Regions from separate parts of the Homo sapiens genome. Here region 1 is linked to region 2. The links are contacts of gene promoters, found by promoter capture Hi-C in blood cells and fetal thymus (Javierre and others, 2016). All regions are on one chromosome and are shown on one strand. The core of a region is centred on a gene start or on the middle of the fragment in contact, and the rest is flanking DNA. Distances in the headings are between cores, read along the strand shown.

Evidence for each region. The method cuts DNA at HindIII sites, captures the fragments that hold promoters and counts their contacts. A CHiCAGO score of 5 or more calls a contact.
Region 1: a contact is called between a fragment that was not itself captured here and the fragment with the promoter of NKX2-4 in region 2, in 1 of 17 cell types (total B cells). The highest score is 6.6, in total B cells.

What each region holds. Positions count from the first base shown.
Region 1 is chr20:20,363,852-20,366,943 of GRCh38, forward strand. No RefSeq gene overlaps it. Among named protein-coding and RNA genes, the nearest start is that of INSM1, 2.7 kb to the right of the region's middle. The HindIII fragment of the contact is 1,532 bases long and covers 1,063-2,594 here.
Region 2 is chr20:21,396,065-21,399,170 of GRCh38, forward strand. It overlaps NKX2-4 (NK2 homeobox 4), which reads right to left and starts at 1,462. Exons shown (of 2, transcript NM_033176.2): 1 at 894-1,462; 2 at 1-469. The coding sequence starts at 1,335. It overlaps LOC105372558 (a long non-coding RNA gene), which reads left to right and starts at 1,870. Exons shown (of 4, transcript XR_001754528.1): 1 at 1,870-2,512. The HindIII fragment of the contact is 6,496 bases long and covers 1-3,106 here.

The DNA of each region.
Region 1 (3,092 bases), core at 579-3,078, 1.0 Mb before region 2:
GCTGGGTTTTGTCAGTTCCGTTTGAGACCGAGGCGCACGGACTAGCGGCCGCCAGCACCTCACAGGTGGAGGACACCTCTTGCGCCCCAAGGTCAATGTCATCCCGATGGGTCCCGTGCCGTCCTGACTCTCCCTGACCTAATTCTTTGGTTATGACTTTCTCACCTTCTGGGCTTCGCCTCTGCCAGCTTTCGCCGACGTCGCCCTTCCCGCCGCCCGCCCGGGCCTTCCTACCCGCTCTCCTCCCTCCCTGGCCCGACGGTCCCACTGAGGCAAAAACAAACAGCCCTGAGGGCACTTCAAGGAGCGTGCAGTGGCCCCGACGGTACTCTCGGGGGGATAAAAGAGGTGGCCAGCCACGCCGTCGGCCCCCGGCCGAATAATGGGCGCGCAGCAGATTGCCAGGGGGCACTTGAAACTCGAGGGGAGGGAAATACTTGAGCGCGGTCCCTCCCCGCGAGGACGCACGACGCAGCCTCGCGGATCGTCCCTTGTTCGCTCTCTTTCATGCACTCTCCTTTTGTGTGGAATTATCTAAACGGGAGATCCCTGGCAGCTTTATGCTAATGCGCCGAACAAAGGCAACGGCCCGCGGGCGGGAGGCCCGGAAGGTGCCTGGGGCCGGGCCGGGCGGGGTGGCGGCCAGGCGGGCTGCGCGTGTCTCTCGCGTGCCCCTGGGACTGACACAACAACCCCTCATTCCTGCAAATACAAAGCCTCTCACCGGCTCGGGTCGGGCGCACCCGGCGCAGGGAGGCGCTGGTCCCTCCGGGCGGCGGGCACTGCAGCGGTAACGCACGGTTCCTGCCGGTTGTGGCTCGGGGGACTGAGGGCCGGGAGTGGGGGCTTCTGTGAAGCCAGAAGAGAAGTCTGCAGCAGAGTGGTGATGAGGGGCGCTGACACCTCACCCCCAACGCCGACGTCTCCAAACGCGATACCCTCTGCGGGGTGAGAATGCGGGCCCGCCCGGCTCCTCCCGTGAGGCCAGGGCCTCCTGTTCTCCTAGACACCCCAAGGAGCCAACTCCTCCGCAGAAGTTCCCCGCTTCTGCTCTTATTTCCAAGCTTCGCGCTTTCTACAAACTCCCTGTTGCCTTGACTTTGATTTCCAGCCGTGGTGAGGGTCAGAGTGAACCCCGGCGCGCTCCCCGACGGCATCCCCGCACACCAGGATAGGAGAAATTGGAGGGCCTGGGGCCTCGGGCTCCGCAGTCGTCGGAGGAAGAACCCACCGCGGGGTCCGCAAGGGAAAGTGAAGAGGCCCGGGATTTTTCCAAAGCGCTGGCCAGGACCCCGAAGGAAGGGGAGGAGTCACCTGAAGCCGGGGAAGGCCCCTTGGGTGCTCTGCCTTGGATCCTTATGTTCACTGACTTTCGCGAAGCCCCCCTGGAGGGGGGCAAATCCGCGCTGTTTCCCCCAACTTAACTTCACGCGGCCCATTCTCCGAATCGCGTGCGCCAAGGCCGGCGTCGGGGGCGCACTGTGATGGCGCTTTGCTCTTCCCAGGCGAAGACAAATATCTCGACCCGATGTCCCCATGCATGCGGGTGCACAGGTTCTGAGAAAATCACGCAGAAGGCGGCTGCGATCCACGGCCCGGGCTGGGCTACACCTGCTTGGAGGTCGCTGGTGTGTGCGTGCGCGCGTGCGCAGCCTAACTCCTTCCAGCCCCGGGTGGTGAAATTAGTTTCCAATACTAGTACCTTTCAAGTTTCCATTTATTTTGACTGTACCCGTCTGAAAGCAGATTTCATTTACGCTAGCAAGACTGGAAGCCACAAATAAAGAAAAAGAAACGGATTCATTGAATCTCAGTATCTCAGTAGCGTTTAATAGATTCCCTTGGCTAAATTCAGAGCCCTGTTTGAATTCACTCACGCAGGAGTTGTTTTGTTTTTTTTGTTGGTAGAGGTGCCGGTTTCCCATCCCCACGGCTTATTTACAATTATGGGTGTTGTTATTTTTAAAGGATTCACAAGGTGACTAACTCTCTGTTATCTGTTGAATGGAAGGAGTGTTACATATGCAAGACCGAATGGGGCAGGCCGAGCCCCCGCCCTATGCTATTCTACAATCCAGATGGGATTCGTGATTAGAAAATAAAATTGGCCAAAGCTGTCTCGGAATCCTTTTCCCACTTCTAATTTCATCAGCACTATTAATCAGAGCTCAAAAGAGCAAGGAAATAACATCAGTTACTTTTAGATAGAAATATGTTTATAAATTTTAGATAAACTCATTTTAAGATTTCTAACTTTTGGGGAGACTAGCACTCACCACAGCATTTTTAAAACTAGGGTGAGACTTTTCAAAATATATTTCACTATATGCATTCTTCCCTTTTCAGTGTGTGAGTTAAAATATTACAAACATAAAATTATCAAATATCTTTCCCTTGATTAACCAACCTGATTAACCCCTTAATTAATTAAGCCTAACAACTGTCCCCATCACAACTTATGACTCATGTGGACTCTATTTTTACATGTTTAATTTCTACGCCAGGGTATTTTCAGAGGGAAAATCCAAAACAATTAAATACCTTCAGTGGAATTAAGCGTAAGTAAAACTCAGCAAAATCTGTCTGGTATACAAAGCTTTGCAGAAAAATGTTTCCTTCTCTTTCAATAAAGTGACATTTTCCTCACAGCATATGACATTTTATGTGGCTTGGCTATTTGTTCCCCAGTGTTGGACGATCAGGGCCACTACGCACTCGTGGGGTTCTCTGCCCTGTCCCCCGAAGATTCTGCCTTTTGTGTTTCCTCGGGGCTGGGCTGGACAGAGGATGGAGGCAGGCGGCCCAGTCTGGGTCCAAACGGAACGGCAGCGGAGGTGGGGGTGGGGGTGGGGGCGGGGGGAATCTTCGCTGTTGTCTCTTCCTGGTGGCACAGGGGAGGCGGCTTGTCCTCTCGGAGGCCTCAGCCTGCCTCAGAGTACAGATTGCCCCCCCTCCCCCCGTCCAGCACGCGTCTCTTTTGCGTCCAGATTGGCCGCGACCGGAGCTCAATAGCAGGAGGTTAATTTCCTTCACAAAGGTGAAGGGGGCACGGCTCCGTGGGGGCTGCGCCCAGACAGGCAGCCCCTTTATTT
Region 2 (3,106 bases), core at 212-2,711:
GGCGGCTGCGGACCGGCCTGGCCGGGGGTGGGCGTGCTGGCGCCGTTCTGGCACGGCTTGCCGTCCTTGACCAGCACAGGCACCGCCACGCGGCGCGGGGACGGCGGCGGAGGCGGCGGCGGGCCCAGGCCGCCCTCCTGCTGCAGCTGCTGCGCCGCCTTGTCCTTGGCCTGCCGTTTCATCTTGTACCGGTGGTTCTGGAACCAGATCTTGACCTGCGTGGGCGTCAGGTGGATCATGCTGGCCAGGTGCTCGCGCTCGGGCGCCGACAGGTACTTCTGCTGCTTGAAGCGCCGCTCCAGCTCGTAGACCTGCGCCTGCGAGAAGAGCACGCGGCGCTTCCTTCGCGGAGCGGCTGCCGCCGCCGCCGCGTGCAGCGGGCCCAGCGACTTGGCGGCGTCCGCGATGCCGGTCAGCGACCCCATGCCGGCCACATTCACGCCCGCCGACGGCCCCATGAACCTGGAGACTGGGGAAGAGTCCCAAGGGGGAAGGCGAGTGAGCTCCAGGCCCGCCGGGAGCCGGTCCAGCCGCCGCTCTCTTCACGCCGCGGCCGCGACGCCGCCGGGCCCTCGCTGAATCCCAAGACCCCCTGACCGCCGCGGCCTCCGGCCCCAGCACGCCCCGCGCGCCCTCGGCGGGTCCCAGAGCACCACGCCCTCAACGGGTCCCAGGACGCCGCGCGCGTTCCCGGTCAGGTCCCAGGACCCCCCGCGCGCCCAGGGTCCCCAGAAACCCCGCGCGTCCCGGGCCGCGTCCCAGGACGCCCCGCGCGCCCGCTCGGCCCCAGGACCTCCTAAGCCGCGCGCACCCCGTCCCGCGCCCCCGCGCCCCTCGGCTGTGGCGGGAAACGCCTGAGCCGCCCGCAGCCCCGCGCTCCTGGCCCCTCTCACTTGACGAGTAGCGTGGGTCCGGGTTGGCGCCGTACCAGCCGGTGGCCGCGCCGCCCCGCATGCCGTCCGTGTAGGCGGGCAGCTCGCCCATGTTGCCCAGGCCGCCGTTGCAGTAGCTGCCCATGGCGCCGTGCGGGAACTGCGAGACGCCGGGCGGCATGTGGTAGGTGGCGGCCGCCGCCGCCGCAGCTGCTGCCGCCGCCGCCGCGGCCGCCGCGTTGTGACCCGCCATGGCGTGAGAAGGCTGCATGCCCGCCACGGTCGCCGCCTGCGAGGAGGGCCCAGGTGGCGGCGCGCGGTAGGCGGCCGCGGCCCCCAGGGGCGCCCCCAGGCCGGGTGGCGCGCCGTCCATGGCGCCGCTGAACTTCTTGTAGGTCTCCTCGATGGGGCTCAGGATGTCGGACACGGAGAAGGGCGTCGTGTGCTTTGGGCTCAACGACATGGCTCGGCGGGCAGCCAGGTAGGGGGGCCTGGGGCGCGCGCCGGCAGGACGCGGCGGCCGCTCGTCGCCGCCACCTCGGCCGCGGCAGCTGAGCCTGTGACGAGGAGTCGGCGGCTCGGCGAGCCCCCCGGGCTGCGGGATCTGGGGTTTATTTTAGTCCGGCGCCAGGTTTACGACAGACTCGGGGGGCGGAGCAACATCCCAAACGAGCAAACAATGGTCATTGACATCTTTTTCTCTCGCCCCCCCAACCCCCGCCCCATAATGGAGGCAAAAAAAGGTAAAAGGGGCAGTTGGGTGTTTCTTGGAAAGATCACTCCCCGTTGCTTTTCCCATCTTTGCTTTTCCCATCCTTTGCTTTTCCCATCCTTCGCTCCTCCATCCGCGGCCGTTACCCCAGCCCTCGAGCACCAGAAATAGAAACTCGGAGGCTGGCGTCGAGGCTAGACATGGACTCCGCGCCTGGCCCCTTCCAGATCCCAGTTTTCTAAAGTGACTTCGCACCAAAGTCCGGTATAATTGCGGAATGGGGAACGTGCTGCTAAGTTTGGGGGGAGGGTGTTGCGGGGGCTTGCTTCGTCCTCTCCAGTTATCAGCCCCTCATTCGCTCCATCACCTAAAGTGTTAAAAAAAAAAAAAAAGGCTCTTGGGTCCCACCGTAAGAGCGCATAAAGAGAGGAGGTACAATGACCGTCCTTTGCCATTGTAGGGCTCCCTAATTTATGCGTTTTTAGACCCTTAAGCATCATTTTGTGGGCAACCAAACGGGCACTTCCAAATTAGCTCAAAGTATCCAAGCCCAGAGAAGAGAGAAAACACACATACACTGATAAATACGCAGATGCTAACTTGTAAGTATTCTGTTTTTCCTCTGTGGGGATGGAAATTGAACAAGGGAAAGAGGGGGAACATTTTTATTTCCTAAAATGTTTCCTACTGAGTTTGCACTTGTAAAGTTTTTTCTGCTTTCTTTCCCTTTGTGTGTGTTCTTACTCTCTTTCTCTCAGTAAATATCTCTGACTTAAGTTTATTCTCCCATCACTACCGTGATCAAAAAGAAGAGAAAGACAAAATATCAAAACTTCCAAATATTTCTAGTTGTTCGCAACGGGTCTTTTTGTTGTTGTTGGAAAAATATAACCTGTTCAAGCGATATGAAAATGGATGCAGAAATCAGGTGAAAATTGTAGTTTCTTTGGAAAAATACAAAACCATAGATAAACAGATTTTTAAAACTTTGTCATCCTTTGACTTGCAGTTTTACCCGAATACTTAGACATTATGAACTCTCTACTAAATACTGAACAAGACAAAGCATAAGACAAAAGCAGTGTGCAAAGCATATTGATTAAATTTTGAAAACAATCTTGCAGCAATAATAATGATAACGAGAAAACAAAGATAACACTTTTAAGTTTTCCTGGAAACTGGAGCAGGAGAAAGAAAAACAAGGAGAGTGCTTTCTTAAGCAATATTTTGTTTTATTTTTTTTCCAGAAAAGGGTGTGTGGAATCGATTTAAGTTTAACCTGACAGTACATGTCTTGAAGGCAAGAACAGTGTTACATATTCCTTTTTCTGTTTGGTTTTAGCCCTTTGGTGGAAATGTTCTCCATGGTTTTGTTCTTAGGATTTTAATAATTGTTTTGTTCAACTCAGTATGGTTTTGCAAAGAATCTGCCCTTTCTAGGGGGGAAAAAGCCATAGGTCACCTGTGGGAAGGAAGTGACAGACGAATGTTAAGAGTAATGTTTTAATATACTGTAAAAATA